Regions from separate parts of the Homo sapiens genome. Here all the other regions are linked to region 1. The links are contacts of gene promoters, found by promoter capture Hi-C in blood cells and fetal thymus (Javierre and others, 2016). All regions are on one chromosome and are shown on one strand. The core of a region is centred on a gene start or on the middle of the fragment in contact, and the rest is flanking DNA. Distances in the headings are between cores, read along the strand shown. Region 1 holds the start of INPP1 (inositol polyphosphate-1-phosphatase). Region 2 overlaps ANKAR (ankyrin and armadillo repeat containing). Region 3 holds the start of STAT1 (signal transducer and activator of transcription 1). Region 4 has its middle 9.0 kb from the start of SLC40A1. Region 5 overlaps OSGEPL1 (O-sialoglycoprotein endopeptidase like 1). Region 6 has its middle 8.0 kb from the start of ASDURF. Region 7 holds the start of WDR75 (WD repeat domain 75).

Region 1 (3,686 bases), core at 331-2,830:
GCCAGGTGCAGTGGCTCACGCCTGGAATCCTAGCACTTTGGGAGGCTGAGCTGGGCGGATCCCCTGAGGTCAGGAGTTCGAGACCAGCCTGGCCAACATGGTGAAACCTCGTCTCTACTAAAAATACAAAATTAGCTGGGCATAGTGGCAGTCACTTGTAATCCCAGTTACTAGGGAGGCTGAGGTGGGAGAATCGCTTGAACGAAGGAGGCAGAGGTTGCAGTGAGCCAAGATCATGCCACTGCACTCCAGCCTGGGCGACAGAGTGAGACTCTATCTTAAAAATAAAAAAAAAAGAAAAGAAAAGAAAAGAAAAATGGACTAGATTTATATCCCTTGCTCCACCCTGTCTTCCCCAAATTTAAATTCCTGCTTCCTAGAGGCAAATTCTTTCACCTTCTATGTCTCTGGTATTTATCTCCTTACTTTTAAGAATCATGTTTAAATTGTTTCTTGATTTTGCCATCATAGATATGATTATGAGGCTAATTAAACAGTAATCCTAACCGCTCTGAGAATGGACCTAAGAAATGAATGTGAGAAAGAAAGTAGAAGCAGCCCACTTGCTAGTGAGTGAAAGCCAGGGAAGGGTGGGGGGATGCGGGGAGAAATTGTCTCAAGTTGGAGAACCCAGGTGCAGGCTGGGAGCAGTACCATGAATTCCATTCAAGAAGCCAAACGTTTTAAGCACCATTTCCTGGAGTTTGCCAAGTTGAGTATTGACCCAGCCTCCTGTCTTGTTGGTTCCTCACTGCTGAAGAAGACCAAGTGTTGACAACTCAGTGAGGCAGTCTCAGCTGGAGTGGAAAAATGTAGCTAAGAAAACGTGCCAGACAAAGCTTTAAGCAGAGCTTCCCAACTGGATGCCGTGAAACGAATGACAGGGATGCAGATACAGCATGGGTCTTCCCAGCCCTCCAAGTGCAAGGGCTTCTGCAGGAAGCCTTCTGCAGGAGCAGCCTCTTCTGTTTACCCCCATTTTGACCCTTGTAATATCATCCTTTCCTACCTGTGCCAAGAAGTGAAAAGGTGTGTGAAGCGCCGCTTTAGAAGGCCCAGTACATTCACAAACATCAGCTTCTGGGCGAGGCTGCTTGGCCTCTTCTATTCAAAACTTTGTGTTGCCCTTTTAAGGTTTCTATTCCCCCCACCCCCACCCCGCCCACCAACACCCATTCCTACCTAGGTTCAACCCAAACCATCCTTAAGGTACACTGAGTATCACAGCACCAAAGGCTGGAGAGAGATAAGTTCCCCACCCTTGATGCGCTTCCTGTCCAGGTGGCCCGAGGCCCACTCCTTAAGAGGCAAGGCCCAGAGACACTGCTGTGTCTTGAGGAACATCCAGTACACCTGACATTTCCATTAGAACAGTGGGACCCGGATACCACTGGCAGGAAGTCCATCTTCACAGCTGCCAACCCATCTGTCAAACCCGCAGTCCCCTATGAGAGTACAGATGAATGGAGGAGGAAGATTTAAAAGTGAATTCGTGGGCGGCGACAAGGAAACAGCAGCCGTGGCCAAGCTGACCCCAGAGCCCTTCCCTTCCTGGCCCTCCCTCTGAATCATCGCGCTCCACTTGTGACGTCGCGGACGCCCGGCTCGGGCAGGCGTGGGGGGCCCGCGCGTCCCGGGAGCCCCGAGGCGGCAGCGCGCGTTTCCACGCCGCGGTCCCGCGGGAAAGCCGGGGGCGGCGGCCTGGCTGAGGCCAAGCTCGGATCCGGTGCCGAGCCAAGCGGGGCCGTGCGTCGCCGGGGCTTCGCCTTCGCTCGCGTGACCTCCGCCGTCCTCCCCAACCCTCGTCCTCTGGCCGCGCCTGCGGCCGCACGCCCAGCGCCCCTCGCCTAACCTCGCGCCCGGGCCGCGCCTCCTCCTCCTCCTGCTCCCCGCCGCTTCCGTTTCTCGAGGGAAAGGCTGCTGCCTCCTGCTCTGTCCTCATCCCCGGCTTAGGTAACACGTTTTCCTCCTTACGACACCCACCACAGGGTCCCCGCGCCGCTGCCCCTCCTCCTTGGATCTGGGGCCCGGGCTGGTGAGCGGCGCGCGCCGTCGCCTCTCCGCGGGTAGGTGAGTCGATGGCGCCGGGAGGGTTCCTCGCCTCTGCGCGCCGGCCTGCGAGGTCCCTGCCCCGGCAGCGAGGCCGCCCCCGGCCGGGCCCGGCCAGGCATGCCCGGCATCGCCGCTGCAGCCAGCGCGGAGGGGAGCTCGTGAGTCCCGCGGCGCCCTTGGCCCTGCCCGAGCGGCCCGATGGGGTTGGGGGGCGGGAAGAAAGGGTGGCAAACAACGATTTTAAAAATCCAGTCATTAGTATTTGTAGGACGAAGAAGCTGATCTGACAGTTGTCCAGAGCAGTGGCCCAGCTGCAACAGGTAGATGGCGCAGCTGTCAGTGACCCCTTGGTCTCAGCCTTGGCTTTGAGAGATGCATCTGAGTGTCCCTAGCTGCCAGCTACCTCCAGTGACCTACTTGATGAGTGTGAAATAAATATGATGGGACTATATTTAGAAAAATCTTTACTTCCTTGCTGTTAATTCTCTCTGCATTTTGAAAGGTGGTTTTGTGAGGTGTGCATAATTAGTTGGTGTGTCCAGAGTGGTAGCTGGAAAAAAATATTTAACCTGGGTTTGGCCCTATCATGTAGACGGTTAGGCGCAAAGAGTGTGAAAGGAAACGCTTACTTTAGTACATCTGTGAAAAACACTTATAAGAAACCACGGCTTGTTTTTTGGAGATTTCTCATTTTAAAGGTATTTTTAAAGTGTTGAATAAGCAGAAGTTTGCCCACTGTATGATGGTGTTCACTTCAAAAGAACAGTGGGTTAAAAGTATGGACAGACCACTTAAGTGGATCCCATCTGTTGAGTAAAAGATTTTTTAGCCCTTTTACACTGATTCCTAGCTTTGAAGCCAGAAAAGTTGATAAGGATCAGCCCTGCTCAACTTGATAATAGTATAAGGATGAAAGTAATCCACTGAACTACTCTTGATTGGTGAATTAGCTAAGTGATCTCATTCTTACCTTTTAAAATAGAGAACATAAGGGAAAAAATAAAGGCAATGGAAGAATTCATTTTTTCAATACAGATATTTGTTTCCATTCTTATGTAGAGCCTACTTTATTTTTAAGTTTTTATGGATTTTTATACTACTTTTGAAGTCAGCTTAGTCATGAAGAGAATTATGTCAAATACATAGAGTTACACTGTACTTTTTGTGTAGAATAAGCTACCACTTTTCAAGCTTTTGGACTAAACCACCGCTTGCTTGGAAATTGCAGCTTTGACTAATGCCCTTTAAAATGATATACCTTATTATAGATTTAAATTATAGCTTTCCTTGTTATAGTCCTGAAAAAAATGAAAAGATAATTTCTTGTTTGACATAGAAGGCCTGTGAGACAAAAGTTATAAAGGTTATTATATATTTATTTTGCTTTTTAATTCTGTCTCTAATAACAGTTAGAAAATGTCTCATTCTATTTCATGTTATACAGAAATTGCTTAAAAGATAATTATGTTATATAAAGTGATCAATGAAAACAAACGTCATCTTCATTTTTTAAAGGTGAGGATGGTGTATATAAGCACTTTTTCCCGATGTGAGTCCTTATGAATGTTCTTGTTAAAATACTTTGAATCTTGTAATGAAGTTAATAAAACTATGTTAATGTGTTTGGCTGAGAG
Region 2 (3,966 bases), core at 1,232-3,731, 650 kb before region 1:
CTGGTAGGAGGGGGGTTTCTCTAGTCCACTGCTGCAGTGAGTAAAAGCCAAGGAGCCATTGCCCAAAGCATCATTCCATATTACATTCAAGGTAAACTCTCGAGGAGCCAGATATAGACATAATTAGCTTAAAAGAATAAGAGGTAGGTAAGCAGACAGTTAGATGACATAGAACTTCAGCCAGAGTTAGGCCTTCCAGGAGCTTTTAGACATTGCCCCAGATCACTGACATGGAAAGGACAGAGTCAATACAATATGAAGAAGGTATTTTTATATAAAGACTTGATTAATAACAGTTGATAACTATCTTATTAATATACTTACAGTTGACTACAATTTAAACTACCATTTTGTATTTAATTGTTACAGAAAAATAAAAGTTTTGCCAGCATAGAAAGAGAAGTAGCAAATCACTTCAAAGTTAGAGAAACATCTTTTTTTTCTTTATTTTTTATAGCTACTATGTGATCTATTTTGAACTAGAAACTTTCTATCAGCAACTATATAAGACACAGTGGTGGGGAGCCATAAATGAAATAGTGAACAATCTGAGACTGAAAAGACTTCCACTGACAGATGCTCAATTACATGAACAATTTAAGAAAAAGCTTGGTTTCAAAAGAGCTATGAAATGCAAGGTATTTCAGTGACTACCACATAATTTAGTATATGAAGTTATGTATTATTGATAAGTATGTGTCTCAAACAGATGTTTATCCTAGGGATAATAATAGGTTAAAGTCTTCAACATGAAATAAAATGCCACATTTTAGTAGCTGAAAGGCTATACAATTCTGGATTATAAATTTCTGGCAGAGTACCTGTTAATGCACTGGATTGTGATTAATCTCAATAACGGCTTATACGTATTGATTGCTTATTTTGTATGTTAGGCAATATTATAAATCAATGAACTCTTTTAAGGTACGACTAGTTCTATTATTATCATTCCTGTTATACAAATGAGAAATTTGAGGTGTAGAGAGGGATCTTTCACAAATCATATAGTAAATGGCAGAGCCAGGCTTCAGTCCTGGGAACTAAAACCTAAAGAGCAGACCTAGCATCATCAAATCTCCACATCTGTTTCAACAAGCCTTGAAGTACAGCTTCTGGAACTGAGCAAAGAAGCTCACCAGCTTCAAAGGTTAGACTGGTATTTACTTTCCATTTATTTGTTTTCACGTCCACAAATTAAAACCTCAAAAATTTGTTAGTTGAATTTTTAAATATTAGTCAGAATGTCTAAAGAGGGTGACATTTTTACCTTTGGATGACAAACTGTATTTCTACAGCTATATATTTCAAATTTCTAGACTTCTGAATTAGGTTTTTCTTAAATCAGAGAAGGAACCCAATGATCTCCATTTGCTTTTAAAATATTTTAGAAAAAAATTAATAATAAAAAATTCCCCAAAATATTTTTTAAATTCTTAATATTTGCTTATAGCTCTAACTACTTTAATCATTATCCAGTAAGAAACTTTCCATGCATGGATCTTGTGAAAATTCTACTTAATTTTAACAGCATTCATGTGATTCTGTTAATACACTTCATGTATTTTTTTCCTTAAACCAAACTTTAGGTGCATTTTGATAAACTGATTCTGGCCTTCTTAATTTTAGAGTATTCCATTTGGTATGAAGTCCGCTGTTGAAAGAGGGTTGTCTGCAGTTTTCCACACATTTAGCCGTAAAACCTCAAGCTCAACAATCAATGTTTCAGATGAAGCAGGTTATACTATTTTTCATCATGCTGCCCTGCACAACAGAGTTTCTATTATATGTCAACTGTGCAATGCTAACTTCAAGGTCAACCAGAGGCGCTTTGTTACGTTCAGCCAAGGTACCATAAAGTTTTTTAACCTAAAATGTTGTTATTTTATTTACCCTTACTCAGCATTAGGAATGCACGTTGATTTTAGAGCAGGTTAAAATTTGGTATTAACTAGAGCAAAGTTGAGGTTTTTGTTTCATTTATCTAAGAAAGGCTTCTTTTAGTTTTCTAAGTATCACTTATAGCTAGCTTATATGGTTTTATATTTGCTCATTGTGTCTCCTTCATTTGAGTATAAGCTCTATAAGAGGGCAAAGATTTAGCCTACTTTATTTGCCGTGGTATACTAATGTCCAGATGAAAGTGTGGCTTAATGGTTGCTCAGAAAATATTTGTTGAGTTAATGCATGGATGGGTGAAGGCAGGATATCATTTGATAAGCACTGGCAAAATTAATATACACTGATATACTATAGAAATTCAGAGAACAGCAATAGATATGACTGTCAGGTCCCAGTAGAACAATCATTCTTTATTCCAGGATCCTCAAACAGGGAATAGTTTCTTTATATTACATATATTTAAATTACATTTAATAACAAAAAATTTCTTTATCATAATAATGTTTAGCATTAATAGCCCCTTTAAGGTTAACCTCATTTAAACTTTAAAAGCTATTTTTGTGATTATTAAATATGCATGGATATTTTATAATCATTGAAATAAATTTAGCTAGAATAAAAACAGAGTTGAAAATGAAATTGGTGGCCCTCCATAACTGGAAAGGAAAATATAGATAAATTGTCAGGGGCAGGTGTAGTGGCTCACTACTGTCTTGCCAACACTTTGGGAGGCTGAGGCTGGAGGATCACTTTAGACTAGGAGTTCAAGATGAGCCCGGGCAGCATAACGAGACCCCCTGCCCATAAAATTAAAAAAAAAAAAAACTTAGCCAGGCTTGGTGGTACACGCCTGTAGTCCTAGCTACTCTGAGAGGCTGAAGCAGGAAGATTGCTTGAGCCCAGGAGTTTGAGGTTACACATATATATGTACATATATATGTAAATTGTCAGGAATGGCCAATGCAACAATATTGGCAATAAGAAGTGGTGATTTTATATTTAATGAAGTCAGCTATCTTAATAAGCTATGTTAAATTTTTACAGACGCCAAAACAAAATGTTTTGCTTTAACCGTATTGAATATCCATAAATTCTGTACTCTATCAGTATGATTAAAATGTTTTGATATTCAGATTCTTCTGTTACTGAAAATATTCAATACATAATACATAATGAACCTAATTAAAATAAGACACAATTCAATCACATTTAAATGCAATAGGTAACACTATTTAAAGATGTATTACTTTAAGCCTTTTTTAGTGTGGAAAAAGTCTTTGATAAATTAAAAGTTTCTCATGCGCCCTCTGACTGCTTGAGTTTCCATTTGCTGAGAATTAGGTAGATTTTGAAGTGTGGAAAACATAGTACTCTACTTCCAATATTATTGCTTAACCAACACAAAATTGTCCCACCTGTGAGTTTTAAGCAGCCATTTGGGGGGCAGAGTTTCCAGGTCTGCTTTTAATGCGTTGTCAGGTTGCATATGACATGCCTGGATGACTTGACCAAAAGTTATTCTCAACACTGTTCGATGTAATCTTGCCAGATACATCTACATAGTCATTTTGTTCTTATTCATATGAGTCTTCTTGAACAACTTAGGAAACTGCTGTATATTAATGATCATACTTCTATGTGCATTCCCTTTTAAAACAGAGTCATCCAAAGTAGAGGTAAAAAAGGAAAGAAATGGTAAGACATAAATAAAGTATTTGGTGCATTTAAAAAGGCTATTGCATATATTAGAACTTTTCTTATAGTATATAATCTCTAAAATACTGTTGCATCAGAATGTTGCATAATGATGTTTTGTATTCATTTTGAAGCATAAATTACTTTCTACTCATAGTTATTTATTGGTATTCCTCTTCAGTTTGGGGAGTTTTCTCTTTTTTTCCTGTGGAATTTGCTGTCACCTTTATTTTTTATAAATTCAGGCCCACAAGTGGTTTCTACAACTTAAAAAAAAAAAAGTTATTATAATATAAATTAGATAGGCTGCCATCTAGTGGCAGTAACAATCTGTGAGGTCTGAGGAATGAGTCGTTTTTGACTGAGGTAGTA
Region 3 (3,495 bases), core at 557-3,056, 670 kb after region 1:
GAGATCGCGCCACTGTACTCCAGCCTGGGAGACAGAGAGAGACTCTGTCTCTAAAAAAAAAAAACAATGAATAAATAAGCTCATGTTCACAAATCTGGAGTCAGTCTCATCTACTCACAAAACCTGTTACCAACTCAGGGAGTGGCATGGCCATCTCCCAGTCACTGAGCTCAAATCTCAGATTTAGGGTTGATTCCTTCCACTCCATCCCAAGACCTGCTCCTTCCTGTCTCCAACATTCTACCTTCCCAGTCCAGCCTCTGCTGCCCACAGATTGGACCACATCAATCTCCTGTGCAAAAATCCTATGATCTGTCCATTCCTAGGCAGATTTCCACCCCACCCCATCTTCATCCATCAACAAAGCAACCCAGTCACCAAATCATTTACTGTTTTTCAACTGTGCCCAACATTTCTGCTTTGCTCCAGCTACTCGCCCTTGGAAACAGCCTCTCCACAAATTTTTGCGTCTCTAAATCCTATAGCATTCAAAGCTATGTACAAAAGCCCCTTCTTTCATAAAGTTGTCTGAGACTTACTCACAATTAAGCTTTCTTTGACTTGCGTCTCACTGAATTCTGTACCTCTATTAGAGCATCGGTTCCAGTTTTCCTTGTAAAGCTCTGTGATGCCTCCAGAGTCCCCGGCGGGGGAAGGTGGGTGGGGAGGGGGTAGAGTAGTGGGGTATTTTGCTTTTTAACATCTTATGGACCTTGGACAGTGCCCTGCATATACTATGTGCTCGAAACAGTTTGTTGAATTGAAATTATGTATATTTCAGACGGAATTAGAAAGTAAAAAGCAAACCATATTATGATCTCACAAGTGTGAGTCCAGCATCCTCATTAAGCAATGGTTGCACAATGGACTGTGCTGGAGGCTCAAGTCCTGTTTCTGTTCTATGAAAATAACTCCTTATCTATACAAACAACATTCAAAGCACAATCAACCACACCTCTGCATACCTACCACAGAACTCTTCAGTACCGGCCAGAAATTTTTTTAAGACTATATTATTTTGGGGTGGGGGGTCTGCAAAAACTAAACATCACTTTTAAACTCTAGGAAGACATTAAGCCCTTCCATCTTTGAACATAGAAACATAATTAAGATTCCGAAGTCATGTACTCATTCATCTGATTCCATGAACATTTACTGACCTGCCACCTTGTGCCCCAACAAGGGCCTGGGGATTCAACCAAAGGAGCAGCTACGCACAGCACGTTAGGTGCCAAGACTGTCGAGGTTATATACACAGAGTGCGAACGTTAACCTAGACAGCTCTCGAGGATGGCATACAGCAAATGAAACTTTCTGCGAAAAGAAGAAAACGTGACTGATGGAAAGGGGTGGAAACGGGAGAAAGTGACGGTAAATGGGAAGGTGCAGTGCCTTCTAGAGGAAAATTATATTTCACAAGTCCTCTTCACTGCCAGAGCACGACTGGCAAGGACAATCGTGCTGAGCAGTGCCATCTCCGAGAACAGGTGGCACTGCTCGCACTTGGAATACTCAGGACGCGTTCTTCCTCTGGGATCACTATTCGCGGGTCAGCACAGACGGCCCGTCCTCGCCCGGCGTCCAACTGCACGGCCCGAGGACTCTGTCCCTGCGCGTCCCACCCCCGGCACCCGGAACCTCACGGCCACTCACTCTGCGCGCAGGATCCGGAAGGGCTAGGCGGGGGCGCGGCGGTGCAGCCTCTCCCGAGCGCGCTGGGTCGCCTCTGCTCGGTCTGGGGTCTGCCAGGCGCGATCCCCCCGGTGCAGCCGAGCCCCTCCGCAGACTCTGCGCAGGAAAGCGAAACTACCCGGCAGGAGAAAAGGCAGCGCTGGCGCCCGGCCCCCTTCCGCCCCCACCAATCACCGGGCGGCTCCGCGCTCAGCCAATTAGACGCGGCTGTTCCGTGGGCGCCACCGCCTCCCTCTGCGGGCCGCTGCTCCGCCCACGCGCTGGGGTATTTCCGCCGGCTTCCGGCGGGGGCCGCCGGCTGGGTGAGCTGCAGCCCAGTCCCGTGTTGCCACGCTGGGAACTGGCGTTCTGTTTACATATCTTAGAGAACGATCAGAAGGACGTGCTGTGTTTGCAGAAGCCCAAACTTGGAGGTCTCTGTAGTAGTTTCATCGCCGAGAATCCAGGCAGAGGACAGATTTGGCGACGTCGTCATTCTAGAAGCTCCCTTTAGCAACTGACCTCCGTGTTGCTAAACCCAGGGAACGCTTTTCTGTTTTTCTCACTTTACTTGACAGCTCGGAAGCATGGGGCAGAGTTGACGCCTTTGTTCTTGAAACACGTTTCTTCCTTGGTCATGATGATAACACATCCTTCTTGCTTTTTCCTGCCTCTGGCATTCTTTCTACATTGCCTCCACCTCCACTATCAAACCATTATATGTTAAGGTTGTCAGGGTCCAGACATTCGTCAGCTTCTTTACCTGGGCTTCTCCTAAACGCTGTGCTGTGATGACCTCACCCACAGCTTCAGTTTCCTTCTAGATGGAGGAGTCTTAAATGCTTATCCCGTCCACACCTCTCCTCTGGGCTTCACACCTACAACTCCCACTTGCCTCTCCACTTGTATGTGCAGTGAGCTCTACAAACTATGTTCAGAACCAAACATCTTTCTCCTCAAACCTGCTCTTTTTCTAGAAATGGCACATGACAGATACCTAGGATTCATAGTTGACATTGCCTTCTCCCTCACCTCGCAACACCTGATCCTCAAATCTTAATTGATTCTTCCTCCTAAATATTTCCCAAGTCTCATTTACTCTGCTCCATCTCTTCTGCTGCCTCCTTCTGCAGTAGATTCCCGAATGGCTGCCTCACTTCAGCCCTTATCTACCTTTTAATCCATTCTCCATACAAGAGTTTGAGTGTTTTTTTTTTTAATTGAAAAGCAGATCATGTCATTTGCCAACCTGAAAATCCTTCCATGGCTTTTCTTTGCTCTTATAAAATTCAGTTTCTTAATACATACTATAAAGCCCTGGTTGCCCGATCTCTTTGTCCAACCCCATAATGTGCCACTCTGCTTTGCTTACTTCAGCATTTAGTTCTTCAAATAAACCACACTCTCCAAACTCAGGGACTTCTCACCCTGAGTTTGGAAAACCCCTTGAGCCAACATCTGCTTCACCCAACTCTTCGCTGGCTAACTCATCTTTTAGATCTTAGTTTAAAAATCTCAGCTTAAATGTCACTTCTCCAGGTAGGCATTGCTGAAGCCAGACAAACTAAATCTTTTTGGACTATATGCTCATAAAATCAATTAGTTCCTTCAAGTAGACGGGATTTGAGTCAAGCCTTGAATAATTAGGCACTTTGGGGTAGGAGAAGGATCTGAATAATTTCCCATGGATATGCCTATATGTGTGTGTATGAGTTTTTTTTCTTTGCACATCTATTTGTTCTTCTTGTCACAAATGCACCCTCACAAAGCAAGTTAGCAGTGAAATTAGACTTCTCTGCCAAGAGATGCCACGGCACCAAAAGT
Region 4 (3,765 bases), core at 741-3,240, 750 kb before region 1:
TTTCTTAGGCTTACCTGAGTCTCCACCAGCACTGGCTGCGAGCTTCCCCTTGTCTGTCCCCGCCCTTTTTTTCTGATACACAGGCATGGCTTCTTATTATTCTGTGGCAAGATCAACATGTAATTTCTTGTGGTCATGAGGTATATGTTTTTTGTATAATCTACTTTGTATTTGCCTCAGCATTAAGATGGATCCAGCCTTTGATTAAAAACAGTAAAGCAACCTTAGGAAATCACATTAGAAAGCATTAATGTTTTGACTAATTTAAAAATGCAAACAAAAAACACCTAGACTATAATTTTCAGTTTATAAGGAGGTAGTGTATCATTAAATGAGTTTAGTTTCTTCTTAGTACCAATTACTCTAGAGATTTCTAATTTGTTTGTCCTTATGATGTGGAGCCTACTGCCTTTAAGGTTAATGTGTACTGATATAGAATGATGGTTGTGGTTCAGTCTTTCATAAGGTGGACCATCTGAGGTAAAGTTGAACACCAATGGTAAAATGGTTAAAGGTTTGTATTTGTGTCACAGAAGTACCTCTGTACTACTTTTTTTTTTTTCAAATGGAGTCTCACTCTGTCGCCCAGGCTGGAGTGTAGTGGCACAATCTCAGCTCATTGCAACCTCCGCCCCCAGTTTCAACCGATTCTCCTGCCTCAGCCTCCTGTGTAGCTGGGATTACAGGTGCCCACCACCATGCTCAGCTAATTTTTGTATTTTTAGTAGAGATGGGGTTTAACTATGTTGGCTAGGCTGGTCTCAAACTCCTGACCTCAAGTGATCCGCCACCTCGGCCTCCCAAAGTGCTGGGATTATAGGTGTGAGCCATGTACTACTTTTTAAAAAATGTCTCACTTTACAAGCAGTTGACCAACTCAAACAAGACTGTAATCCTAGCAAATTAAATGTATTAATCTGCCTATTGTGAGGTGATAATGAGCTGATGATTGGATATTTAGGAAATAATTCCTCACCAAAGTCTCACAAACTGCATTAAATTGGTATCTTCCTTTACTTGATTGTGCTATCTGGCCCTAGGGAAAATCTGGTTCTTTTTCTCTTTTCAAGCTGTTCACATTTTTCAAAGCACAAGTATATGACAACTCTTCTGACTTCTTGTGTTCACATATTTCAGAGACTTCTCATCAGTGCCATTTGTCTCAAATTGCTTTGCAAACCATAGCAGTATATAAAATCACCACTGTAAAAATGTCCCAGAAGTGCCCTAACTGTGCCTTTTGGTCAAATTAACTAGCTATTGCCTTCATATAGAAGATCAAAATAACTAACACTTCCAGTTCTCTGCCAAACACATTCAAACAAAGGCAGTTTGGCTACACAACTAAACCTAAAAGTTCCACCACAGATATAAACTGATGGTTCAACACACAAAAGCGTGGGTAAGCATTTCTGAGGAATACTTACAAAGATTACTGGTCAAAATCTTTCTCTAATTAATTTAGCTATATATGTATGTCCAGGTTAGCCCTGAGTGTAAATATTGTTCACATTGTCCCTATATAACTCTGTCACACTCTCAAGAGAAAGAAAACTTCTCTACTGTAATCAATTGGTTTAGAAATTAAAAGAGGGAAGAAGAACCTTCAGGTATTTAATCTAGACCTTTTTTGATTGATACATAATGAATGTACATATTTCTGGGCTACATGTGATATTTTGATACATGCACACATTGTGTAATGATCAAATCAGGATAATTGGGATATCTATCACCTAAATATTGATCAATTCTCTAGGTTGGGAAAATTATAAATCTTCTCTTCTAGCTCTTTTGAAGTATACAATAAATTACTATTAACTATAGCCACCCTACTGTGCTATGAAACACTAGAACTTATTTTTTTCTATTAAACTGTATTTTCATTCCCTTTAACCAACTTCTCTTCATCCTTACTCCCCACTACTCTTCCCAGCCGCTAGTAATCACCATTCTACTCTCTACCTCCATGTGATCAACATTTTTTAACTCCCACATCAGTGAAAACATGCAATAATTTTCTATGCCTGGCTTATTTCACTTAACATAATGTCCTCCAGTTCCATCCATATTGCTCAAATGACAGGATTTCATTCTTCTTTATGGCTGAATAATATGTGGTTTTATATATACATATACATTTTCTTTATCTATTCATCTGTTGATGGACACTTAGTGTGATTCCATTTCTTGGCTATTATGACTATTGCTACAATAAACATGGACATGCAGATATCTCATCAATGTACTGATTACCTAGCAGTGGGATTGCTTGATCATATGGCAGTTCTAATTTCAGTTTTTTGAAGAACCTCCATAAGGTTTTCCATGACTGTATTAGTCAATTTTCCCACTGCTATAAAGACGTACCTGAGACTGGGTCATTTATGGAGAAAAGAGGTTTAATTGACTCTCAGTTCTGCAAGCTGTACAGGAGGTATGTCTGAGGAGGCCTCAGGAAACTTAAAATCATGGCGGAAGGTGAAGAGGAAGCAGGCACAATCGTCACATGGTAGAGCAGGAGATAGAGAGCTAAGGGGGAAGTGCTACACACTTTTAAACAACCAGATCTCATGAGAACTCACTCATTATCACAAGAACAGCAAAGGGAAGTCCACCCCAATGATTGAATCATCTCCCGCCAGCCCCTCCTCCAACACTGGGGATACAATTCCACGTGAGATTTGGGTGGGAACACAGAGTCAAACCATATCAATGACTGTACTAATTTACATTCTCACCAACAGTGTATAAGGATTCCCTTTGCTCTACATCCTCACTAGCATTTGTTATTGTTTGTCTTTTTGATCAGGAAGATAATAACCATTCTAATTGGGATGAGATGATATCTCATTGTGGTTTTGATTTGTATTTCCTTTATGATTAGTAATGTTGAGCATTTTTTCATGTACTTTTGGCCATTTGTATCTCTTCTTTTGAAAAATGTCTATTCATGGCCGGGCATGGTGGCTCACGCCTGTAATCCCAGCACTTTGGGAGGCCAAGGCGGGTGGATCACCTGAGGTCAGGAGTTCAAAGCCAGCCTGACGAAAATGGCAAAACCCATCTCTACTAAAATTACAAAATTAGCCAGGTGTGGTGGCATGTGCCTGTAATCCCAGCTACTCAAGAGGCTGAGGCAGGGGAATTGCCTGAACCCGGGAGGCGGAGGTTGCAGTGAGCCGAGATCACGCCATTGCACTCCAGCCTGGGCAACAACAGTGAAACTCCATCTAAAAAAAAAAGAAGAAGAAGAAGAAAAATGTCTGTTCAGATCATCTGATTATTTTTAAATTGGATTTATTTATTTACTTATTTGCTGTTGAGTTGTTTTGAGTTATTTGTATATTCTAGTTATTAATCCCTTGTTGGATGAATAGTTTACAGCTATTTTGTCCCATCCTGTATGTTGTTTTCTTTGCTGAGCAGAAGTTCTTTAGCTTGATGTAATCCCATTTGTCTATTTTTGCTTTTGTTGCCTGTGATTTTAAGGTATTACCCCAAAAAAATCTTTACTCAGACCAATATCCTGAAACATTTCCCCAGTGTTTTCTTTTAGTAGTTTCATAGTTTCAGGACTTACACTTAAGCATTTAATCCATTTTGATTTGATTTTGTATATGGTAAGAGATAGGGATCTAGTTTCATTTTTCTGCATATGGATATCCGGCTTTCCCAGAACCATTTATTGAAGAAAACGTCTTTTCCCAGTGTATGTTCTTGAAACCTTTGTCGAAAATGAGTTCACTGTAGGTGTGTGGACTT
Region 5 (3,642 bases), core at 652-3,151, 590 kb before region 1:
CCCCTTTTCTCCATCCACTTGCTGAATTGCCTCCATACAGTCTGAGGGTCTTGCTATAATCCATTCTCTACCTGGGCTGCAGTAAGCATTGAAAGTATATATTAATTAGCGGTTATTTTCCCCGATATGTACTTAGGGCTTTCTATGTGCTAGAGTCCAAAGTCAGTGGGTGAGTGAGTGGGTGAATGAATTATTATTTATTTATTTGTCTGTTTAAGACAGGGTCTTGCTCTGTTACCCAGGTTGGACGGCAATAGTGCAATCATAGCTCACTGTAGCCTATAACTCCTGGGTTCAAAGCAATCATCCCACCTCAGCCTCCTGAGTGGCTAGGGCTACAGGTTCTCAGTCTTTGTTATGCTGAGTGTGGTGGTACAGGCGTGTAGCCCTAGCTACTCAGGAAGCTGAGGTCTCTGCTATGTTGCCCAGGCTGGTCCCGAATTCCTGGCCTCAAGTGATCCTCCTCCCTTGGCCTCCCAAAGCATTAGGATGAGCTACCATGCAAAGTTTGTGTTCTTAACCACTAAAAAATAAGAGACCTCTTTAATCTTCATATTTACTTCTAAATTATCTTAATGGTGCTGAGTCACAACTTTCTGGTGGATTGACTGAAATATAGGAAATGCGGAGGGAAATGGTCTATTTTATACTAGAAAGGGATACATATTCAAGTGATGAATTGTGTTATCCAGCACCATTAAGGATAAGAATTTATAACAATGGAAATATTAAGTTTCTGTAGATATTTTTAAAAGCCTTTAGAGAGCAACTTTTGAGCTCTGAAACTGGTTTCAGGTAGGCTCAAGACTATACTTTAGGACTATTTTCAGGTTATCAGAGTTTCTTTGCATTCAATGCCAGATATTTCCTGAGTATCTTGGCCTAGCCAGACCATCCTACCACTCCTAAAATTTATACTACTTCTCCTATAAATCTCCCCTATAAAGATTATTTTTATTGGCTGGGCATGATGGCTCACACCTGTAATCCCAGCACTTTGGGAGGCCAAGGCGGGTGGATCACATGGTCAGGAGTTCGAGACCAGCCTAGCCAGCATGGTGAAACCCCATCTCTACTAAAAATACAAAAAATGAGCTGGGCATGGTGGTGCTTGCCTGTAGTCCCAGCTACTCGGGAGGCTGAGACAGGAGAATTGCTTGAACCTGGCAGACGGAGGTTGCAGTGAGCCGAGATCGAGCCATTGCACTCCAGTCTGGACAACAGAGCGAGACTCTGTCTAAAAAAAAAAAAAAAAAAAAAAAGATTATTTTTATTACTCCACGGTTTTTTTTTTTTTAAACAATGTGTGAAAAGTCAGGCCCTGGAGGCTGAAGTTGGAGGATTACATGAGCCTAGGAGTTCTACTCCAGCCTGGGCAACATAGCAAGATGCTGTCTATAAAAATCGAAATAAAAAATTATGTATGAGAAAGGCCTCCAGATATAGAGGGTTACATTCAAAGAATTGTACATTTAGTTACTTTAATCAAGGCAGAAAAACAGTGATAAGCTTATAATATTTGCAGTACAAAGTTTGGATTAAAAAAAAATCCAAAAAAACTCCCTCATTTATTTCCATCTGATTATATACAATTTCTCAAATAACTGATGTGAAAGTATGTGGACAACTAAAGCGTACAATACATACTTGAGGGATTACTTATATGTTAAAATTGTAAAACCTCAAATTATATAGATTTTAAAAAATGCATAGACATCCTATTTACTCCAGAGATGATACCTAATAACGAACTCTTAAAATTAATAACATATTATGTTAGAGAAAGTCAGCTTTTGTCTTGATTTGGAAATGTCTGCTTTGACATGACTGATCTAAAATTGCTCTCTTGAGCACATCTGTAATCCCAGCATTTTGGGAGGCTGAGGCAGGCAGATTGCCTGAGCTCAGGAGTTCAAGACCACCCTGGGCAACATGGTGAAACCCCATCTCTACTAAAAAAACAAAAAATTAGCCAGACGTGGTGGTGGGCTCCTGTAGTCCCAGCTACTCAGGAGGCTGAAGCAGGAGAATCGCTTGAACCCAGAAGGTAGAGGTTGCATGCAGTAAGCTGAGATCACGCCACTGCAATCCAGCCTGGGTGACAGAGGGAGATTATCTCCAAAAAATAATAATGATAAAAAAAAATTAAACTGCTCTCTCATTATAAAGTCAGGTTCTTGTTTCAGTAGGAGTTAAAAAATAGCTTCTCCTATCCTGATTTGAGGAAGTGGGGGAAAGTCCTAGGCCTGTATGATACAGGGCCAGAATTCAGCAAAATTACTGTGCTTCTTTCAAAGCTTCCTTTCTACCTGCCAGCATCAATACATTCCTTTCTCAAAAGATGTTTTATTTTGGTTTTTAATAATTAAAAGAAAAAAACTATCTTCCCTTGTAAGACTTTTAACACATTATAGTATCTCAGAAGAGCAGGTAAAACATCAAATAGAAAAAAAAAAATAAAATCTTGATGAATAATTAATATTATATATCTTCTACAATTTGATACACAAAACAATAAAAACTTAATTTTAACCTTAATACTACCTTTAGGGACTTTTTTGAACAGCAGAAATCATATCTCCATTTTTAATTGTGGTACTTTTATGGAAGCTTCTCCAACTTCTTTTGATATGTCTACTCCAAGAGGACATCTACATCATAAGCAGACAAATCGTATTATTTATTTGCTTCATGATCCATCACTAGTTCTGCAGACTATTTGCTTAGAATTCTGATGGTATAAATATCAAATATTTAATTCATCATATGTGGTGATGATTCTTAAATACTTACAAATATACTGGGACCTCAAGTCAGGATAATGAAAGCTAGTCTCATTAATAAGAAATCTAAATTTTGAGATATTTTTGAAAGAAACAGTTTTGCTGTTCTCAAATACTGTAAATAAGTTAAAAACATAAAATGAAATATAAAAATAATGAAAAATATCTTATAATTCTCTACAAAGCTAAAAAGGTAAAAACATTTTTGCCACACAGCTAAAGTCAAACCTGTATCCATTCACATTTTAGAAATGTCCTAGGTTTCTATAGGTTCTTCTCTGAAGTTTCAAAAGCTGCCTTGCCCCTTTTCTACCATCCTTTGCCATTACTAGCCAAAGAGGTCTTAGTTCCTGCTGTCTTTTTCTGTTCCTCCTCAGTAACTAATTTTTGCTTCAGATTTCTGCTTTTCTACCATGGTGTCCAAGATAAGGCTTTGCTTTGACTGAATCCCAACCTGGAAAAAGCCATTATCTCCAGCCTCAACACTGCCACAAGGGGGCATAACTGAATCAGAGGATATACTCTATCTGAGACAAGGTATCAAAGGGATGCCTTCCGGTACTACTAACTCAATTCAGTTCATTCATCATCAGCATACATGTAATTCATATATAGCACAACTGTCAAGTTACGGAATATAATGCTGACAAGTTGTGTTTTTTTTTTTTTTTTTTGAGATGGAGTCTCACTCTGTCACCCGGGCTGGAGTGCAGTGGCGTGATCTCGGCTTACTGTAACCTCCACCTCGAGGATTCAGGCAATTCTCCTGCCTCAGCCTCCCGAGTAGCTGCGATTACAGGTGCCTGCCACTACGCCTGGCTAATTTTTGTATTTTCAGTAGAGACGGGGTTTCACCATG
Region 6 (3,991 bases), core at 965-3,464, 690 kb before region 1:
TTCAGTTAGACAGGAGAAATAAGTTCAAGAGATCTATTGCACAATATGAAACTATAGTTAATAACAATGTACTGTATACTTCATGTATGCAAAGAGAGTAGATTTTAAGTGTCCTCACCACATAAAAATAAATGTGAGATAATGGATATGTTAATCAATGTGATTTAGCCATTCCACAATATATACATATATCAAAACATCACATTGTACTCTACAAATATATACCATTCTTATTTTTCAAATAAATAAATAGAAATCAAACCAAGAGCAATATTGATCACAAAGCGAAATTTAACAAGTAGCAACAATCTTACAAGATAAATACGAGCCAAAAACTTCCCATGCCCTTTGACCCTTTAACTCTATCTATTCTATTATTATTCTAGTAAAAATGTAGCCTTAGGGTCAGCGGCAGCTGGAGCCTTCTGAAACCGGCTAATTGTTAAATTGTATATGCTGGAACCACACAAATAAGCCCACATAATAACCAGCTAACAGCACAATGACAGGATCCACACATACCAATACTCACCTTGAATGTAAGTGGGCTAAATGCCACAGTTAGAAGGCACAGAGTGGCAAGCTGGATAAAAAACCAAGACCCAATGGTATGCTATCTTCAAGAGCCCCATCTGAGATGTAATGACACTCATAGCCTCAAAATAAAGGAATGGAGGAAAATCTACCAAGCAAATGGAAAACAGAAAAAAGCAGCAGTTGCAATCCTAACTTCAGACAAGACATATTTCAAACCAACAAAGTTCAAAAAAGACAAGGAAGGGCATTACAGAATGATAAACGTTTCAATTAAACAAAAAGACCTAACTATCCTAAATATATGCACCCAACACAGGAGCACCCAGATTCATGAAGCAAGTTCTTGGAGACCTAGCAAGAGACACAGACTCCCACACAATAATAATGGGAAATTTTAACACCCTACTGACAATATTAGACAGATCATCAAGGCAGAAAATTAACAAAGATATTCAGGACTTAAACTCAGCATTGGACCAAATGGATCTAATGGACCTTTACAGAACTCTCCACCCAAAACCAACAGAATATACATTTTTCTCATCCTCACGTGGCACATACTCTAAAATTGACCACATAATTGGACAAAAAACAAATGTCATCAAATGTAAAAGAACTGAAATTATACCAAACACACTCTTAGACCATAGCACAATAAAAATAGGAGTCAAGATTATGAAAATCACTCAAAACCATGCAATTACATGGAAATTAAACAACATGCTCCTGAATGACTTTTGGGTAAATAATGAAATTAAGGCAGAAATCAAGAAGTTCTTTGGAAATGACAAGAACAAAGATACAACATACCAGATTCTCTGGGACACAGATAAGGCAATGTTAACAGGGAAATTCATAACACTAAATGCCCAAATCAAAAAGTTAGAAAGATCTCTAATAACCTAACATCACAACTGAAAGAATCAAAGCAGCAAGAACAGCTCCCTCCCCGTCCCCCTCTCCCTCTCCCCACGGTCTCCCTCTCCCTCTCCCTCTCTCTCCACAGTCTCCCTCTGATGCCCAGCGGAGGCTGGACTGTAGTGCCGCCATCTCGGCTCACTGCAACCTCCTGCCTGATTCTCCTGCTTCAACCTGCCGAGTGCCTGTGATTGCAGGCGCACGCCACCAGGCCTGACTGGTTTTGGTATTTTTTTGGTGGAGACGGGGTTTCACCCTGTTGGCCGGGCTGGTCTCCAGCTCCTAACCGCGAGTGATCTGCTAGCCTCGGCCTCCCGAGGTGCCAGGATTGCAGACGGAGTCTCACTCACTCAGAGCTCAATGTTGCCCAGGCTGGAGTGCAGTGGCGTGATCTCGCCTCGCTACAACCTCCACCTCCCAGCCGCCTGCCTTGGCCTCCCAAAGTGCCCAGACTGCAGCCTCTGCCCAGCCGCCACCCCGTCTGGGAAGCGAGGAGCGTCTCTCCTTGGCCGCCCATCGTCTGGGATGTGAGGAGCCCCTCTGCCCGGCCGCCCAGTCTGGGAAGTGAGGAGCGCCTCTTCCCAGCCGCCATCCTGTCTAGGAAGTGAGGAGCGTCTCTGCCCGGCCGCCCATCCTCTGAGATGAGAGGCCCATCGTCTGAGAGGCGCTCCCCAGCGCCTCTGCCCCGCTGCCCATCGTCTGAGATGTGGGGAGCGCCTCTGCCCCGCTGCCCCATCTGGGATGTGAGGAGCCCCTCCACCCGGCAGCTGCCCCGTCTGGGAAGAGAGGAGCATCTCCGCCAGGCAGCCGCCCCGTCCAAGAGGTGGGGGACAGCCCCCGCCCGGCCAGCCGCCCTGTCCGGGAGAGAGGTGGGGGGCAGCCCCCGCCCAGCCAGCCACCCCGTCCGGGAGGGAGGTGGGGGGCAGCCCCCGCCCGGTCAGCCGCCCCGTCCGGGAGGGAGGTGGGGGGCAGCCCCCGCCCGGCAGCCGCCCCGTCCGGGAGGTGGGGGGCGCCTCTGCCCGGCCGCCCTGTCTGGGAGGTGGGGGGGCCCCTCTGCCCGGCCGCCACCCCGTCTGGGAGGTGTACCCAGCAGCTCATTGAGAACGGGCCATGATGACGATGGCGGTTTTGTCAAGTGGAAGAGGGGGAAGTGTGGGGAAAGGAAAGAGAAATCAGATTGTTGCTGTGTCTGTGTAGAAAGAAGTAGACATGGGAGACTCCATTTTGTTCTGTACTAAGAAAAATTCTTCTGCCTTGGGATGCTGTTAATCTATGGCCTTACCCCCAACCCCTTGCTCTCTGAAACATGTGCTGTGTCCACTCAGGGCTAAATGGATTAAGGGCGGTGCAAGATGTGCTTTGTTAAACAGATGCTTGAAGGCAGCATACTCGTTAAGAGTCATCACCACCACTCCCTAATCTCAAGTACCCAGGGACACAAACACTGCGGAAGGCCGCCGGGTCCTCTGCCTAGGAAAACCAGAGACCCTTGTTCACATGATTATCTGCTGACCTTCCCTCCACTATTGTCCTATGACCCTGCCAAATCCCCCTCTCCAAGAAACACCCAAGAATGATCAATAAATACCAAAAAAAAAACAAACAAACAAACAAAAAAAACAAAACGAAGCAAGAACAAATCAACTGCAAAGCTAGCAGAAGATGAGAAATAACAAAAATCAGAGCTGAACTAAAGGAAATCAAAACATGAAAAACCACTTAAAAGATCAACAAAATCCAGGAGCTGGTTTATTGAAAAAATAATAAAATAGATAGGCCACTAGCTAGACTAATAGAGAAGAAAAAAGAGATGATCCAAATAAAACACAATTGTAAATGATGAAGGGAATGTTACCACTGACCCCACAGAAATAAAAACAACCACTTCAACATTCGGTCAAGTTGTATTTCTTTTGATGATATCATATCTTTGCAACGTTATACTTTTGGTGGTTGCTAGGATAAAGTACAAATACCTTGTGAAAATCAGTGAGGAACAGAAAATGAAAGTTATGATGTCCAATCTGATTCCAAGGTTTGAGAAGTTATATAGTGCCTAACAGGCATACATATCCCATTAGCAATCGTGTTAATTTAAGAATAAAATAAAAACATTATATTCTATTTCAATTTATGTATTTTTTTAATGGCTACTAAGTTGTTAGAACACAAATACTAAGTTGTTTAGATTTAACTACTTACTAAAATGACTTATTTGGGTTTTTTGTTTGTTTTTTGTTTTTGTTTTTGGCTTCAGAGACCATGAAAAATTATGGGGACAATAAGAATGCTGTGAACTGAAAAGTTTAGGAGTCTCTAGCTTAGGCATCAAACTCATCAAGAAGGAATAATGGGACTCTAGATGCTAAGCACCAGAAAGTACAGCCATAAAAAAGTTAAAAACAAATATTGTATTGAAAATATGAAAAGGAACTAAAGAGCAGAATTACCACATGGGACAAATAAAAATATGTAACCATGTATTTAGCACTACTTGTAACACTAAAAGAATGGAGACAACTCAAATGTCCAGAAA
Region 7 (3,550 bases), core at 167-2,666, 900 kb before region 1:
GATAAACCAAAATTATTAAATATCTCCCTTTCTAGTTCTGGCTCCCCAAATAATAAAGTTTTGAGCACTTTAATAAGCTAGACTCCTCAGTAAAAAGTAAATTTATCCCTGATTTTTACAGTGGTGCTGTCCCAGGATATGTCTTGACCTTTGTGAATATTGTATTTCTCCACCATAAATAAACTTATAGGTATAATCATGTGTGGCTTAATGATGGGGATATGTTCTAAGAAATGCATTTTAGGTGATTTCATCATTGTGTGAATATCACAGAGTGTACCTACACAAACCTAGATGGTACAGCCTACTACACACCTAGGCTGTACGTTATAGCTGATTGCTCCTAGGCTACAAATCTGAACAACATGTTACTGTACTCAATATTGCAGGCAATTGTAACAGAATAGTATTTGTGTATTTAAACACATAAAAGGTACAGTAAAAACACAGTATTATAATCTTACGGAATCACCATGTTATATGCATTGATTGAAAGATCCTTATGTGACATGTGACTATATTTGAGACCTTGGTAATTTTGTGGTAAATCCACAAATCAAGAAGCGAAATCAAAATAGGCAACATAATATACAGGGTCCAAGAATATGATACGTGTAAGTTTACAAAGGAAAACTGGAGATAAACTGGCAAAAATAAACATGTTGAGATTTTAGGGGTTCCTAACCCACAGATTCTATTCACTAATGGGAAAAGGTAAAACTCAGGAAACCAGAGACCAGCGCCCTGAAACCTGGCGGGACTGGCCGAATGTCAGATTAGCCCGAGCAGCTACACTGAACGCTGCGGAAGATGCACCAGAATCCCGGAGTAGGAGCCAGATTTCCAAAGGAAGAAAGCTAGGCCCTAGGACTGTGGAGATTCTGTAGTAACCTAAGCGATGTTCACAAGAACAGAAGAACGGCTAATGAGAGGAACAAAAAGCTGTACAAGGAAGAGAAAGCTACCTTTCCACCCAATAACTCAACGCTGCGACCGAGAAAACCAGGGACGCGAGAGGCTCGCGTCATCCTGCAGCGCCGACACCACAGACACTAGAAAGCGACGCCTCCGGTGGGACGACTGGAGGTCACGTGGTACACTATACGCCACCTTTCCCTTCTGGCGGAAAAAGCCATAGAGTCAGGTTGACAAGGCCTGAGAGAAATATGTCTGTATTAAATAATTGTGTATAGGTATATAATAAAAACTGATTGTCTCTAAATCTCTGTTTTGCTTTCACCTTTTCTTACAAGTGTCTTAGTTTGACATTGCCCACACAAAAGGTGCCTGCACGGAAGCGGAGTCCTACCACCGAGTCTCAGGCCTAGAAGGGCCCGGGGGTGGGTTCTGTGGGCTGGGAACAGCCTTATTACCCGGCTCAACGAAGGAAGTTCAGGGCGGGACCAGAGATTGGCCATTCCGCTACTGCGCAAAGATGGTGGAGGAGGAGAACATCCGCGTGGTTCGTTGTGGCGGCAGCGAGTTGAACTTTAGGAGAGCTGTGTTCTCTGCAGATTCTAAGTATGAGGGGCACCGCGCTTTGTCGGCTGAGGGGCGGGGCGTGAGTTTCTCGAGGGTCGGGGAGAAGGAATTGTCAGTCGCGTTCGGACTCGCCCGCCTGGCGGATATCGGCTTTGGGTAGAGCACGCGCCTGTGGGGGATCCCCAGGGTACCTGGGAGGTCCCGTTACCACTGCAGATTGGGTTGCGTCCCCCGATTCCTGGACAGTTTACCTGCAGGTAGATAAAGGCCCTGGAGCCGGTCTCCGTGTCGAGGATCTGGAAGGTGTTCGGGCGGCTGGAAAATGGTCCAGGGGTGGATGTGTATGCCACTACCTTTGCAGTACCTACTCTTTCGTACAGAATCATGTTTTGGAGTGACTAAAACCTAAAACTATTCCGCTTTTTCTACCCACTCCTCACTCCTGAAGCATAGTGCATGAAGCATAGTGCAGTCTTTTCGGAACTTTACATGAAAACAGATGTTAGATTCTTTATGAGATAAAAATACGCTAAGACTTGGTCTCTTTTCTCAGTGTAGCTGGAAACCAAACCACTCCCTGGCTTCAAAATCCACTTCTTACATTATGAAACCTTTGTAAGTTTCTTAATCTTTGCCTCAGTTGCCATCATCTGTAAAGGGGGACAATATTTAGTTCATCTCACGTGGTTATTGGGAGGATTAAATGCCTCAATATGTTAAAACTACAGACAACAATGCCCGGCACATAATGGCTCAATGTATGTAGCTGTAATCATTATTACTGTATTGTCAGGTTTTCAAATAACTTTAGGTAGGGTGGCACTTAATAAAATCAAAAAACCCTTTCTGCCTTAGAAGAGTAGAGATAGTATTTTATGAAAGTTTGTAGCCTCCACAATATTCTTTTTTTTTTTTTTTTTTTTTTTTTTGATGCAGAATCTCACTCTGTCACCCAGGCTGGAGTGCAGTGGCTCAATCTAGGCTCATTGCAACCTCCGCCTCCCTGGTTCAAGCAATTCTGGTGCCTCGGCCTCCTGAGTAGCAAGTATTATAAGCGCGGGCCACCACGCCCGCTAATTTTTGTATTTTTAGTAGAGAGAGGGTTTCGCCATGTTGGCCAGGCTGCCCTGGAACTCCTGGCCTCAAGTGATCTGCCCACCTGAACCTCCCAAAGTGCAGCGATTACAGTGAGCAACTGTGCCCGGCCCACCCCCACAATATTCTGCATATGAGTGTACGACAGGTAGTTGTTGAAGGTAATGCAAGCATGACTGAAAGAGCTTTTATAAATTGCCTTAGAAGCCAAAAAAAAATGAGTCCTGTGGCTTTGTTGACATTGATCTTATGAATCAAAGGAAGAAACAGGCTTTAAGAGGCTGTCACACTGTGACGCTTCGGACTCATATCCATGTAACCAGTACTGTTCTTATACCTTATTCATTATAATGAGGTCCATTGTGTGTTTGATTTGCTAAGCCCAACAATTCATTTTTTAAGTACTTGTCAACTATATATTATGTATAACATGCTGCAGTGACAAAAACTAAGATAATTTTAATATTGATCCTGCCTTCGAGGAGCTTACAGTCTAGTGAGGAAAAGGAATACTCAGTAACAGATTTTTCTTACTGTGGTCCTGTAGGAAGGAGCTCATAAGAAGAGATTACTTCCCAAACTAAGAAGGACGGAGAAGATTGCTGAGCAAATGACATTTGTGCTAGGCCTAGATGATATTTTAAGTGGGGAATATGGACAGAAGACATTTCAGGTGGGGAGGACAGTGTAAGCAAGAAAGACAGAAGTGATTTCTGTTGAACAGGCTGGTACAGTTAGCTAGTAAGAATGGTATATATTAAGGGAGGTAGTGGGAAATGAGGTTGGAAAGGACACGTGCAGCCAGTTGTTGGTTGTTGTTTGGACCAAAGAGAATGGTTTTTTAATTCTTTAAGGGGACGGCGGTAATCAGTTGTAATTTGATTGTGTTTCTTCAATAATGTTAACCTGAAAACTGTAAAACTCTATGATACATGTTGGTGAGTGGAGAAATGAGAGCTGGGTAGGCTGATGT

What was found. The method cuts DNA at HindIII sites, captures the fragments that hold promoters and counts their contacts. A CHiCAGO score of 5 or more calls a contact.
Region 2: a fragment that was not itself captured here is called in contact with the fragment with the promoter of INPP1 in region 1 in 1 of 17 cell types (neutrophils); the score reaches 10.0 in neutrophils.
Region 3: the fragment with the promoter of STAT1 here is called in contact with the fragment with the promoter of INPP1 in region 1 in 2 of 17 cell types (activated CD4 T cells and non-activated CD4 T cells); the score reaches 6.0 in activated CD4 T cells.
Region 4: a fragment that was not itself captured here is called in contact with the fragment with the promoter of INPP1 in region 1 in 1 of 17 cell types (neutrophils); the score reaches 6.1 in neutrophils.
Region 5: a contact is called between a fragment that was not itself captured here and the fragment with the promoter of INPP1 in region 1, in 1 of 17 cell types (monocytes). The highest score is 5.2, in monocytes.
Region 6: a fragment that was not itself captured here is called in contact with the fragment with the promoter of INPP1 in region 1 in 1 of 17 cell types (neutrophils); the score reaches 8.9 in neutrophils.
Region 7: the fragment with the promoter of WDR75 here is called in contact with the fragment with the promoter of INPP1 in region 1 in 6 of 17 cell types (monocytes, non-activated CD4 T cells, total B cells and 3 more); the score reaches 13.6 in monocytes.

Annotation. Positions count from the first base shown.
Region 1 is chr2:190,342,009-190,345,694 of GRCh38, forward strand. It overlaps INPP1 (inositol polyphosphate-1-phosphatase), which reads left to right and starts at 1,581. Exons shown (of 7, transcript NM_001128928.2): 1 at 1,581-1,953. LOC124906109 (serine/arginine repetitive matrix protein 1) reads right to left here and starts at 3,041. Exons shown (of 1, transcript XM_047446773.1): 1 at 1-3,041. The coding sequence starts at 2,308. The coding sequence ends at 1,430. RefSeq lists silencers at 1,567-1,876, 1,947-2,276. The HindIII fragment of the contact is 2,404 bases long and covers 838-3,241 here.
Region 2 is chr2:189,694,524-189,698,489 of GRCh38, forward strand. ANKAR (ankyrin and armadillo repeat containing) reads left to right here. Exons shown (of 23, transcript NM_001378068.1): 6 at 458-638; 7 at 1,627-1,846. Among named protein-coding and RNA genes, the nearest start is that of ANKAR, 22 kb to the left of the region's middle. The HindIII fragment of the contact is 3,751 bases long and covers 607-3,966 here.
Region 3 is chr2:191,012,365-191,015,859 of GRCh38, forward strand. STAT1 (signal transducer and activator of transcription 1) reads right to left here and starts at 1,807. Exons shown (of 25, transcript NM_007315.4): 1 at 1,654-1,807; 2 at 1,161-1,314. RefSeq lists enhancers at 1-48, 1,160-1,479, 2,090-2,289, 2,320-2,399, 3,178-3,227 and silencers at 1,570-1,769, 1,800-2,039. The HindIII fragment of the contact is 15,587 bases long and covers 549-3,495 here.
Region 4 is chr2:189,587,930-189,591,694 of GRCh38, forward strand. No RefSeq gene overlaps it. Among named protein-coding and RNA genes, the nearest start is that of SLC40A1, 9.0 kb to the left of the region's middle. The HindIII fragment of the contact is 6,560 bases long and covers 1-3,765 here.
Region 5 is chr2:189,748,006-189,751,647 of GRCh38, forward strand. OSGEPL1 (O-sialoglycoprotein endopeptidase like 1) reads right to left here. Exons shown (of 9, transcript NM_022353.3): 8 at 2,545-2,651. The coding sequence ends at 2,573. It also overlaps a transcript of ANKAR not described here. Among named protein-coding and RNA genes, the nearest start is that of OSGEPL1-AS1, 13 kb to the right of the region's middle. The HindIII fragment of the contact is 788 bases long and covers 1,508-2,295 here.
Region 6 is chr2:189,651,442-189,655,432 of GRCh38, forward strand. No RefSeq gene overlaps it. Among named protein-coding and RNA genes, the nearest start is that of ASDURF, 8.0 kb to the right of the region's middle. The HindIII fragment of the contact is 5,241 bases long and covers 1-3,991 here.
Region 7 is chr2:189,440,058-189,443,607 of GRCh38, forward strand. It overlaps WDR75 (WD repeat domain 75), which reads left to right and starts at 1,417. Exons shown (of 21, transcript NM_032168.3): 1 at 1,417-1,521. The coding sequence starts at 1,436. It also overlaps a transcript of COL5A2 not described here. RefSeq lists enhancers at 283-981, 753-912, 933-1,152, 1,413-1,542, 1,563-1,792 and 1 more. The HindIII fragment of the contact is 5,353 bases long and covers 1-3,550 here.